Regions from separate parts of the Homo sapiens genome. Here all the other regions are linked to region 1. Evidence: promoter capture Hi-C in 16 types of primary human blood cells and fetal thymus (Javierre and others, 2016). All regions are on one chromosome and are shown on one strand. The core of a region is centred on a gene start or on the middle of the fragment in contact, and the rest is flanking DNA. Distances in the headings are between cores, read along the strand shown. Region 1 holds the start of SLC25A53 (solute carrier family 25 member 53). Region 2 has its middle 2.1 kb from the start of ZMAT1. Region 3 overlaps RPL36A-HNRNPH2 (RPL36A-HNRNPH2 readthrough). Region 4 overlaps BTK (Bruton tyrosine kinase).

Region 1 (3,225 bases), core at 98-2,597:
GAGGGCAATGAGTGAGCTGGTTATGCCAATTCCTACTATAGTCACCTCCTTGGCTGCCAGCCTTCAAGGGAGAGATCTTTGCCTTAGTGGGTTCTGCCCTTCTGCTTCTGAAGAGAACCTAGTCTTTCTGTATGGGCATTCAGGCAATTCTTGGGGTGGGGAGTTGGGGGAGAGAGAGCACTTGAAAAGAATTTATGGTGGCCTTTTTCTCAGTGATATTTGAGAAATACCAAGACACATCTGAATGTATCTGAGTTTAAGTCTTGGCTCTATTTGTTATTAGCTCTGTGACCGTGGGCAAGTTATTGATTTATATGCAATCTGACTAATCTGAGTTTTCTTAGCTGCTTTAAGCAGACAAAGAGGACAGGAAAGGGTAATACACTTAAGAACCAGCAAAGGGCTATTGTGAGGATGAAGCAATAACAACAAAATGGGTTTAAAGCACTTATCATAGTGCGTGGTCCATAGAACTGCAAACGTTGGATTTTGCTTATTTTAGGACAGTACAAAGAGACTCTTTAATATACTCTTCTGACTCCAGCCAGAGTGGTAGTAATTTCCATATCAGCAGTCCCTAGAATCAGGTATTACAGCCTCAGCCTGGAGAGAACAGGGCAATCCCCTCTATCCCAGGTGAAATGATTATTATCATTTATTATTTATTAGCCAGAGGTCTTAGGTGAGATCAAATTCAATCATTATAATTTATATTTCAATATACTGCTTAACTTCATGATAGGCAATGTTCTAGGTGCTCCTCACATGTGAAATTTTAATATTTTTACTGCAACTCTGGAGGTAAGTACTATTATTATACCAATTCTACAGATGAAAAAGCCAAGGAATAGCATGCTTGAATCACTTGCCCAAGATGCCATGTTTAGATAGTGGTACAGTGGGGATTCGAACGCGGGAGCTCAGGTTTCAAAGTCTGTGCTCTTTACATATGCAGCTAAAGAGTCAGACAAGAACCAAAAGGAGATGGAGAATAGAGGGTAGAAAGGGCACAGGTTCAAGGTGAAAGGTCAGAAACTGCAAATTCGGAGTTTGGGTTGGTCTAGCAGCTTAAAGGCGTCATCATGAACTGTTCACCTAAGTAAGTTAAGCTCCTGTTTGAGAATGACTGATAAGCTTGCAAGCCAACTTACAAACAAACTGGGGAAATGTTCCAATAGATGACTAAGTCTTTTAGGTCTTTTTACCTGTGTTTTTCGGTCTCTATACCAGATTAGTCGCCTGGCTCTCCCAAACAGACCGGCCAACTGACGTAGTCGCGAAACGGTTAATGTCGAGGCGGGGGCGGGGGAGGCGGAAATAAAGAGAGCGGAAGCAAAGAGGATTGTGGGAGCTCCGTTGTGCGTCGCTTAAGTGAGGGCGGCGGATGGGCGAAGGTCCGGTGACTGCGACTGTCGCTGCTTTCTGAGGCCACAGGAAAGGGGCCGTCGGTCGCCGCCATGACAGCGAGCGAGGCGGAGGTTTGTAGCACTTCTTATGGGCTGAGGGCGTAGACACATCCTGCTTCCAGCCTAGCAGGCAAACGGGAACGGAAGTGATAGGGGATCAGAAGTTGCGAGGGGATGAGGAGTAGGGGAAACTGACAAGCGGACGGACCCGGCGGCGAGAATTGATGGCGTAGCTGTAGGATTAAGGGGCGTGTCAACTGTGTTGTGTGTGTTGACACTGAGATGTGTGAATCCCCTCATTATTTTTAGCTGGGGACAGGCGGGGTCTATGGGGGAGGGGGCGGACGGATGAATGGAGGATAAAATCAGGGCGAAAACGTGTTGTCTGCTGGGCACCAGTACATCTGAGTCACATCTCAGCAGGATGATTTTATTGGAAAGATCTAGGTCCCTGGTTTCAGATTCTGCTATTGATGCGTTGATTGATTTCCCTTACCAAAATACCAAGTACCTGCTCTGTGCTGGGTACTGCACTAGAGGCTCCGGATGAGGAAAGGAATTAGGCTTTTTCCTCGACATTTACAGCCTGCCGGTTGCTATCTGCATTTGGAGACAGGCTATTACAATACAAGGAGACAGAGATAGATCCTGTGTTATGAAAATCTATTGGGTGCCACCGAACTCATCTGGGAGTTGAGATCTGGGACGGCTCTTTGATGCGGTGATTTAACATATATTTTGAAGACAAAATAAGCAGGGCAAAAACGAAGTGCAATTTTCCTCCAAGCACCTTCCCTCCCTGTTGAGGTGAACTGGAGAACTGAGTAGCATTTAAGGCCCAAAATTAGTGTATTTCTTTTTTTTTTTCTTTCTTTCTTTCTTTTTTTTTTTTTTGATAAGGAGTCTCTCTACTTCTGTCGCCCAGGCTGGAATGCAGTGGCGTGATCTCCGCTCACTGCAACCTCCGTCTGCCGGGTTCAAGTGATTCTCCTGCCTCAGCCTCCCGGGTTGCTGGGATTAGAGGCACCCACCACCACTCCCGGCTAATTTTTATATTTTTATATTTTTAGTAGAGACGGGGTTTTACCATGTTGGCCAGGTTGGCCTCGAACTCCTGACCTCAAGTGATCCGCCTGCCTCGGCCTCCCAAAGTGCTGGTATTACAGGCATGAGCCACCGCGCCCGGTCCCCACAACTAGTTTATTTCTGGTAAGAGCATTTGCCCATCACAATGGGACTTCCAGGCGCCTCTGGAAGAATCAGTCTTACGTGAGTGCAAAGCCTGCAAGCTCTGGGTAGGACTACGATGGAGGTGCTAGTTACTTGGTTTTCCAGCAAACTCGGTTCACAGCAGGGAATTGTGCACCCACCAGAAATCCTAAGCAATATTTCTCTGAACAAGAAAAGAAGCCTCTTTGTTTACCAGAGAAACAACAGTATAGCAGTCTAAGTCAGTGGCTCTCAAACTTTCCTGTGAATCAGAATCAGATGGAGCGTTTCTTAAAACCAAGATTGCTAGGTCCCATCCACAGAGTTGCCCCTACAGTTGGTCAGGAGTGGACCCCCGAATTTACATTTCTAACTAGTTCCCAGGAGATGCTGATACTCCTGGACATGGGGCCATACTTGGAGAACTATAGGTCTAAACGGAGCTGACAATAAATTGGAAAGAATATCTCCTGGAATCTCTTAGAACCCGGGAGGCAGAGGTTGCAGTGAGCCAAGATTGCGCCACTGCACTCCAGCCTGGGCAACAGAGTGAGACTCTGTCTCAAAAAAAAAAAAAGAATATCTCCCCTAGGGAAGGCTAGGCACACTC
Region 2 (3,185 bases), core at 632-3,131, 2.2 Mb after region 1:
GACTGAGTTTTGCGTTTTTAAATGGAATTAATGAGCCCAATATAACATCACTTTTGTGAGAAGACTGGGAAATTCTAGGAAACATCTGGCCCATAGCAGGCTTTCCTTAATTGCTACTCTGTGCTATATTCCACCTCCTCTTTCCTGTGAGATAAATTACATTGGCATTCACTTAATAACATTACTGTCATTGAGAGCAATGATAAGTATAAGAGGAGGGAAAGGGAAGTGTGTGCTTATTGTCACAGTGCATGACTGAGGTTTGGTGGCATTTTCATGTTATGGCATGTCACCAAATGCAGCTGAAGGATGGGGAGAAAATTAACTAATAATTTTATTTTATTTTGTGCATTATCCTACCACTTCTTTTTACTGTTAAAGTGGCAGAGACAGAATTTTCCGTGGATCCTAAGAAGGACAAAGTAATTCCATAATTTAATATATATTTGTTGACTGATATAGTTGTTACTGTCAGACAGAGGTCAGGGAACTGCAGAAAACCACTGCTAATCTCACAGATCCTCCAAAGCCTTTGAGTACAAGACTTACAGAAGAATGCTAGGGTCTGAAAAAAAATTTGTTTTATATCTGCCAGATTCCACATAAAGAACAGTTTTTATTTCCTTTCTATTTAAAAAATATCATACAAATACATAGCATTGGTGATACCTAAACCATATTCAGAATCCTGCTGGCAAGAAGTTTAGGAAATGTAATTCACAGGATTCCAGCTTCTGCAACAAAGGAGAGAACATAGACGAGGATGAAAAAGCTTCCAACTGCCAGATGACCTTATCTGCGTAAGTCTCCTGGATTTTACTTCTTTAACCTTTCTGATTCTTTTAAGTACCTGATATTCTACATTAAATATTTTCTGTTTGAAATACCTAGTGTAGTTTCTTTTTTGCTGACTGAATCTTGAGTGATGCCCACTCCTCCAGAGATTCTGAATGAATATTTCTTACCTAAGTGGATTGTGATTCATATTTCAAAAAACAATGTTTTTGAGAGATCCCTCCATATCAGAAGGAATAAAATCACACCCCATTTGTATGCTTGCCTTGTCCTACTAGCTACTTGAGCAGATTATTTCTTGTGTCTGGCCTATCCAGTAATTTCCTTAACGAGTAAAATTTGATCTAACTTACATAAGGACAAGGTAGAAGTCTAGAGAAGCTACCCATTGACTCAGGTAATCTTGGGTAAATTATTGAACCACAAAAAACAACATAAAGATAAGTGTTTAAAAGCCCAGAACTCCAAGTCTCTCTAACTGGTTATTCAGCTCTAGCCAACTGTAGCCATTCAGGAATGCACAGCCAGTACTGCCAAATCTTCATGTTGTTAAGAGACTTTTATTTTGCATGAAATACCCCTTTCAAATGTTGATGAGGTCATGAATAAACAATTGTGTACGTAGAAGAAAACATATCATAAGCCAGATCTAGGGACTTAGAGACCTGGGCCTAGGGATCCCTGCCTTTCAACTTCTGTCCTAGGACTTTACTGGGCTGGAGCATGAGTCATGGAAAATAAGACGCTGTCTTTTGTCTCAAATGGTCCCAGGTTCTTGAGAAGTACAAAGTATATAATTCATTACAATAAAAATACACACCAGATATAGATGTAGCACAGAAGAAGGTGAAATTAACTCTAAGGAGAGACAGAACAGGTTACTTGGTGAGGTGATGTGTTGTCTGGGTTTCTAAGGGTGTATAGGATTTCATTAGGCAAGTGCCTAATGTGGGGGAAAAGGTGTTTCAGGAAGAGAGAAGAACATATATAGTAACATTACATCATGAAATAACATGGTCTTCACAGGAATCTTTTTTTTTTTTTGAGATGGAGTCTCGCTTTGTCGCCCAGGCTGGAGTGCAGTGGCACAATCTCGACTTACTGCAAGCTCTGCCTCCCAGGTTCAAGCCATTCTCCTGCCTCAGCCTCCTGAGTAGCTGGGACTACAGGCGCCCCCCACCATGCCCAGCTAATTTTTTTGTATTTTTAGTAGAGACAGGGTTTCATTGTGTTAGCCAGGATGGTCTCGATCTCCTGACCTCGTGATCCACCCGCCTCGGCCTCCCAAAGTGCTGGGATTACAGGCGTGAACCACCGCGCCTGGCGGTCTTCACAGGAATCTAAGAAGATTTAGGGATTGCTAAATCAAAGTAAAAGCAGAGGGGAGAGATGGGGACAGTGGAAAGAGATGAGGTCAAAGAGGTGAATGGGGAGACTAACAGGGCAAAACTGTGTCTTTTGACTTTGTCCAATAAGCACTGGACAGCCAGTGACGACTGGCAACAACTTGGTAATAGATTGGAGGGATTGAGATCAGAGGAAAGAAGACCAGTGGGGTGGATGCCATACGTCTGACCATATATCATGAGGACTTGAAATACAGCAACGGATCTAAGACTGGAAAGGAGAGAATACTTAAGGGAGACTTGCACAAAGGCACCAGGAGGTGTGCCCATCAATAAGGAAAAGGGTGAGATATCCTACAGCATCGACAGTGCATAACTACAGCTACAAGCAACAACATAGATGAATCTTAGAATGTTACGTGAAAGAAACAAGTCCCAGGCCAAGCATGGTGGCTCCTTCCTGTAATCCCAGCTACTCCAGAGGCTGAGGTAAGAGTATTGCTTGAGGGAAAAAAAAGCAGAAACAAGTCCCAGAATGCTACCTAGAAAAAGATATAAATATTTGTGAAAATTGAAAACAATCAAAACTAAACAACACTATTTAGGCACATATCTATGTGATAAGAATATATGTTAAAATGCAAAGAAATAATAAATATAAATCAGGATATTGGTCTCTTTGAGAGGAGAGGTTGGGGGGACAAGATGAGATTTAAGTGATCAGTAATATTCTAGTACTTCTATTGGGTGCTGAATTCACAGGAAGTTATTGTAATTAAGATGGGCAGATCGATAGATAGGCAGTCCTTTAAGAGGCCACGGAAACAATGTGTCAGAATGAAAGCTTCTGTTCTATTCTCTGTACTAAGTGCTTTAAGAAAGCCAGGGGCCGGGCGTGGTGGCTCACGCCTGTAATCCCAGCACTTTGGGAGGCCGAGACAGGTGGATCATGAGGTCAGGAATTCAAGACTAGCCTGGCTAACATAGTGAAACCCCATCTCTACTAAAAATACAAAAATTAGCTGGGCATGGTGGCACATGCCT
Region 3 (2,500 bases), core at 1-2,500, 2.8 Mb after region 1:
TGTCACAATACTGGAAATAATTATTCTCCATGTGCCAGAGCTCCCATCTCTTCTCTTTCAGTTCATTAATTAATTAATTAATTCATGTAAAATCCATGCATACCTAACCATAGCTAATATTGTGCACTTATAATTCAAGAGGGCTCTAAGAGTTAATTAGTAATTGTAACTCTCTATAACATCATTTAGGGGAGTCCAGGTTGTCAATCGGTCACAGAGAAAGAAGCATCTTCATTCCTGCCTTTCCTCAATATACACACCATCTCTGCACTACTTCCTCAGAACAATCCCAGCAGTCTGGGAGGTACTTTACACAATTTAAGCACAGAGCAACTGCCTGTCCCTGCTGCTAGTTTAAACATGAACCTTCCAGGTAGCCTCTTCTTAAAATATACAGCCCCAGCTGGGCATGATGGCTCATGCCTGTAATCCTAGCACTTTGGGAGGCTGAGGCGGGTGGATTACTTGAGGTCAGGAGTTCGAGACCACCCTGGCCAACATGGTGAAACCCCATCTCTAGTAAAAATACAAAAATTAGCTGACTTTGGTGGCACATGCCTGTAATCCCAGCTACTTGGGAAGCTGAGACAGAAGAGTCACTTGAACCTGGGAAACAGAGGTTGCAGTGAGCCAAGATCGCACCACTGCACTCCACCCTGGATGACAGACTGAACCCCATCTCAAAAAATTAAAATAAAATAAAATAAAATAACTATATATATAGCCCCAGCTGGAAATTCATTTCTTTCCCTTATTTTACCCATTGTTTTCTCATACAGGTTATAAGCACATGTCCTTGGCCCTGAATAGGACTGGCAGAAGCATTGTGTACTCCTGTGAGTGGCCTCTTTATATGTGGCCCTTTCAAAAGGTGAGATAGTGAGCCCAGAATCCAATAGAACTGTACTGATAGATAGAACTTGACAACAAAGGAAACCAAGGTCTCCTTCAAAGTCCAACGTTACTTACTATCATCCTACCATCTCTCCCAGGTTCCAACCACTTCTCACCATCCCCACTGCTGTAATTATAGCCTAAGCTACCATCACCTGGAAAGTCATCCTTGTGTCTTCCCCTTTATTTCACCATTCATGTCCTGTCTATCAACAGTCCTTCCACCAGTATCTCTAAAATATCTCCTGAATCAGCCCACTTCCTTCCATCTTCACTACATGCACCCTGGCCTTCCAAGCTACTATCGGCTCTCAACCAGACTGCTGGGACCACCTGATCTCTCTGCTTCCACTCTGTCTCAACCCCCATCTATTTTCCAAGCAGCACTAGAGTTATCATATTAAAATGTAAATATCAGTTTTTTTTTTAAAGAAAAAAACCCTGAGACTTAACAGAGTTATAAAAAATATAAATGTCATCATCAGTTCCCTGCTTAAAACCCTTAACTCGCTTCCAATTGCACTTGGAATGAAACCAAACTGCACTGATCCAGCCCTTGCCTGCCTCCCCAAAGTCCAAGGGGTCATGGCTCTTTCCCTGGCTACACTGGTTTTCTTTCTGTCCCTCAACACTGCAAGCCTATTGCTGCCCCAGGGCCTTTACACTTGCTTTTTTTCTGCCTAGAACAGTTCTTCCCCAAAGATTTTTAAAGGGCCGGGCTCCTTAACATTGAAGTCGCAGACCAAACGCCACATATGCAGACAGTTCTTCTCTAACTACTTTAAAATAGCCCTCTGTCCATTCATTCTTCATCACATTAACCTGTTTAATTTTCTTCTCAGAGCTCCACACTATTTGGAAGTATTTGTTGACTTGTTACCATGTCTCCCCACTAGAGTGTAAGTTTCATGAGGGCAGGGACCTTGTCTGACTTTGACTGTATCTCTCGCATATGGTTAAGTGTTGAATAGTTATTTATGGAATGAATCCCTATTATTCCCTCATTATCTCTGCAAAATAGTCTTTTTTCTCAACATCTTAAACCTGATATCCCACCTGCCTATCTACAAACTTTTTTTTTGCGACAGAGTCTCACTGTCACCCAGGCTAGAGTGCAGTGGCGCCATCTCGGCTCACTGCAACCTCCGCCTCCCGGGTTTAAGCGATTCTCTTGCCTCAGCCTCCCAGTAGCTGGGATTATAGGCGTGCGCTACCACATCTGGCTAATTTTTGTATTTTTAGTAGAGATGGTTTCACCATGTTGGCCAGGCTTGTCTCGAACTCCTGACCTCAGATGATCCACCTGCCTCGGCCTCCCAAAGTGCTGGGATTACAGGCATGAGCCACCGTGCCCAGCCTCTACAAACTTTTTATTCCATTAACAAACTATATGCCTGGGATTTAAGTTTTCTTAATACTTGATGGAGTCCTATGTAATTTTGCAGCTTTTAATTTTACTAAGACCATTTTAGTTCTGATTATAGAAGTAAATTAACTTTAAGGGATTTCAAGTTATATGGCCTACTTCTGAAGCAAACTTCTTACAGTGAAAATTCATTATAAGGGTTTAGACCTCCTTATGGAGACGTTCAATCTGTAAACTCAA
Region 4 (3,596 bases), core at 248-2,747, 2.8 Mb after region 1:
TCACACTTTGCAACCTCCACAGAGATATTGTTCTTGCTTTCATTCTTCCAATCCTTGGGGAGTGCTTACTGTGTGTCAGCCACCACAGGGGTTTCTGAGGATGAAAACTAAACTGGACATGATCTCTGCCTTTTTAGAACTTAAACCATGTTAAGGAAAACAATTCATTCAGTTTTCAACAGCTTCTGAATACTGATTATGTACCAGGCACTCTGCCAGACCCTATAACTGCAAAGACAAATAAGATGCTGTCTCTCTTCTAGAGGAGTTAATAGTCTAGTACGACCTTGATCTCCATCTAGTGTGGTCAGTACTATAGCAGAAATTTGGGCAAAATATAAAAAGCACAGAGCGGGGAACCAACTGATTCTAATCTTTGAGGTTGATCTAGGAAGACTAGGACCCCTGCTATCCAAAAAGACTGCAAACCAATTTAATAATTTTTTTCACCTTCTAGGGGTTTTGATGTGGGAAATTTACTCCCTGGGGAAGATGCCATATGAGAGATTTACTAACAGTGAGACTGCTGAACACATTGCCCAAGGCCTACGTCTCTACAGGCCTCATCTGGCTTCAGAGAAGGTATATACCATCATGTACAGTTGCTGGCATGAGGTAAGTGCTTTATTAGGATCTCTTAAATTATTTCCTTGAATCTACTTGCCCATTTAGCTGGCCATTCAGCCACCAAAGACTGATAGCTGCACACATTCTTTTTTTTCCTTTTTTTTTTTTTTTAATTTGAGACAAGGTCTCGCTCTTTCACCCAGGTTGGAGTACAGTGGCGCGATCTTGGCTTACTGCAACCTTCGCCTCCCAGATTCAAGCGATTCTCATGTCTCAGCCTCCCAAGTAGCTGGGATTATAGGCGTGCACCACCACACCAAGCTAATTTTTTTTTTTTTTTTTGGTGACACAGTCTTGCTCTGTCACCCAGGCTGGAGTGCAGTGGCACGATTTTGGCTCACTGCAACCTCTGCCTCCTGGGTTCAAGTGATTCTCCTGCCTTAGCCTCCCGAGTAGCTGGGACTACAGGCACATGCCACCGTGCCCAGCTAATTTTTGCATTTTTAGTAGAGACAGCATTTCACCATGTTGGCCAGGCAGGTCTTGAACTCCTGACCTCAGGTGATCCACCCACCTCGGCCTCCCAAAGTGCTGGGATTACAGGCGTGAGCCACTGAGCCTGGCCAATTTTGTATTTTTAGTAGAGATGGCATTTCGCCATGTTGACCAGGCTGATCTCGAACTCCTGGCCTCAAGTGATCCGCCCACCTCGGCCTCCCAAAGTGCTGGGATTAGAGGCATCAACCACCACGCCAGGCCTTGCACACATTCTCTGACCTTGGCCTGCAACTTGATCATCTGATGGCCAGAGGCTTTCCCAGGCCCACTCCGATTCTCACTAGAGTGTCATTAGTACACTCCAATGCCAGCTCAGCTTTAGGGAGTGAGGTGTTGTGGGGCCATGTCATCTAGCATAAGCAGGCAGCCAGAGGCATTCAGACAAGTGAATGGGCATTACAAAAGAAAAGTCATGAAAGTTTGTTCATTCCTTTGTGTGTCATTGGCCCTTTCTTCTACTTTATTAGCTGCCAACCGTTTCTGGCTGAGGTCCTAAATGAGATTTTTTTTTTTTTTTTTTTGAGACCGAGTCTTTCTCTGTCGCCCAGGCTGGAGTGCAGTGGCGTGATCTCGGCTCACCGCAAGCCCCGCCTCCTGGGTTCACAGCATTCTCCTGCCTCAGCCTCTCGAGTAGCTGGGACTACAGGGGCCCGCCACCACGCCCGGCTAATTTTTTGTATTTTTAGTAGAGACAGGGTTTCACCGTGTTAGCCAAGATGGTCTCGATCTCCTGACCTTGTGATCCACCCGCCTCTGCCTCCCAAAGTGCTGGGATTACAGGCATGAGCCACAGCGCCCGGCTAAATGAGATTTTTTTTAAAACCTACTGCTTGAAAGGGAACTAAAACAGGTAGTGGGTTTTTTGTTTGCTTTGTTTTGTTTTGCTTTTTAATATGGTGCATCGTGGGGTATGTGGGTAGGTGTGGTATTTTGGAAATAAGGAAATCTGTCCTACTACTATTAAACTGCTTTGCTCCTCTTACCTCGAGTTCTTCCCAAGATGCCTTCTCTACTTTTCAGTAGATCCTTGGCAACCTAAATTTCTAGTAGGAAATAAATGCTCAACTCTTCAGAGTGTCCAACAAGTGCATATGTGAATCTGGAGCCTTCTTGGTGAGGTGAAAAGTGGGTATCTGGATCCGAGCATGGCTGGTTTCCCTCGAACAAATGACAGATCACAGAGAAAGTGCAGAAAGGGAGGACTCCTTCTTTCTTCTGTGTGATGCAGGATTAAGGGTGATTGGCTATGCTCCCTCCCAATCAGGACCTTCTTACTCTGCTAATTAAAAATGATTTCAGACAGGTACTTTATCCACAGCCTGTTTAAAGGAGTGGTCAAAATTGGATGCATATCAGAAACCCTAAGGAGCTCTTAAAAATGCAGATTACTGGCTGGGCATGGTGGCTCATGCCTGTAATCCCAGCAGTTTGGGAGGCCAAGGCAAGCGGATCACGTGGTCAGGAGATCTAGACCATTCTGGCCAACATGGTGAAACCCTGTCTCTACTAAAAATACAAAAATTAACCAGGCGTGGTGATGTGTGCCTGTAATCTCAGCTACTCAGGAGGCTGAGGCAGGAGAATGACTTGAACCCAGGAGGTGGAGGTTGCAGTGAGCCGAGATCCTGCCACTGCACTCTGGCCTGAGTGACAGAGCGAGACTGTGTCACAAAAAAAAATTCAGGTAACTGGGACTTTTCTCCAGAAATTCTGATTAGCTATGCCTGAAGTGGAACCCAGAAATCTCTTTTTAAACTTCCCAGGAAATTCTGATACTCAGCTAAGTTTAAGAATCACTGAGTCAAGGAATCAAGAAATTGATGACCATTGGTTCTAACAGATTGAGAGCATTCTGGCATGAATGTTCCCTGAACCACTAAATACCAAATACCTCGGGGGCTTATGGGCCATGGCCATCAAAAAGAACCTTAGTCGTAGGCCGGGCGCGGTGGCTCACGCCTGTAATCCCAGCACTTTGGGAGGCTGAGGCGGGGGAATTACCTTAGGTCAGGAATTCGAGACTAGTCTGACCAACATGGTGAAACCCGGTCTATACTAAAAATACGAAAATTAGCTGGGCGTGATGGCGTGCACCTGTAATCCCAGCTACCTGGGAGGCTGAGGCAGGAAAATCGCTTGAACCTGGGAGGTGGCAGTGAGCTGAGCTCACACCACTGCACTCCAGCCTGGACAACAGGGTGAGACTCTGTCTCAAAAAGAAAAAAAAAAAAAAACCTTAGTCTTTTTGTTACCAGTGGTAAAAAAAAAAAAAAAAAAAAAAAGGTCCCAGGTACTCAGAATCCCTGCTCAGTAATACAGCCTGTGGTTTTGAAATATTAATCACTAAAAATTATCACATGGGATTTCTGTTCTGCCAACCACTTGAACTTGTTTGGTAGCCATTTTTCACTTGAGGATCCAAAATAAGAATGTGTTGTATACAGTTACATAATGAACTTGCCCTCAATTTT

What was found. The method cuts DNA at HindIII sites, captures the fragments that hold promoters and counts their contacts. A CHiCAGO score of 5 or more calls a contact.
Region 2: a fragment that was not itself captured here is called in contact with the fragment with the promoter of SLC25A53 in region 1 in 2 of 17 cell types (total B cells and activated CD4 T cells); the score reaches 10.0 in total B cells.
Region 3: a contact is called between a fragment that was not itself captured here and the fragment with the promoter of SLC25A53 in region 1, in 3 of 17 cell types (monocytes, activated CD4 T cells and total CD8 T cells). The highest score is 7.1, in monocytes.
Region 4: a fragment that was not itself captured here is called in contact with the fragment with the promoter of SLC25A53 in region 1 in 2 of 17 cell types (activated CD4 T cells and non-activated CD4 T cells); the score reaches 6.2 in activated CD4 T cells.

The regions. Positions count from the first base shown.
Region 1 is chrX:104,155,131-104,158,355 of GRCh38, reverse strand. It overlaps SLC25A53 (solute carrier family 25 member 53), which reads left to right and starts at 1,347. Exons shown (of 2, transcript NM_001012755.5): 1 at 1,347-1,478. It also overlaps a transcript of FAM199X not described here. RefSeq lists an enhancer at 1,274-1,573. The HindIII fragment of the contact is 6,927 bases long and covers 1,137-3,225 here.
Region 2 is chrX:101,932,565-101,935,749 of GRCh38, reverse strand. No RefSeq gene overlaps it. Among named protein-coding and RNA genes, the nearest start is that of ZMAT1, 2.1 kb to the right of the region's middle. The HindIII fragment of the contact is 2,213 bases long and covers 775-2,987 here.
Region 3 is chrX:101,399,037-101,401,536 of GRCh38, reverse strand. All of the region lies in intron 3 of RPL36A-HNRNPH2 (RPL36A-HNRNPH2 readthrough), which reads right to left. It overlaps GLA (galactosidase alpha), which reads left to right. Exons shown (of 7, transcript NM_000169.3): 4 at 780-871. Among named protein-coding and RNA genes, the nearest start is that of GLA, 7.6 kb to the left of the region's middle. The HindIII fragment of the contact is 4,058 bases long and covers 1-2,500 here.
Region 4 is chrX:101,350,213-101,353,808 of GRCh38, reverse strand. BTK (Bruton tyrosine kinase) reads left to right here. Exons shown (of 19, transcript NM_000061.3): 18 at 458-615. Among named protein-coding and RNA genes, the nearest start is that of TIMM8A, 3.3 kb to the right of the region's middle. The HindIII fragment of the contact is 4,884 bases long and covers 1-3,596 here.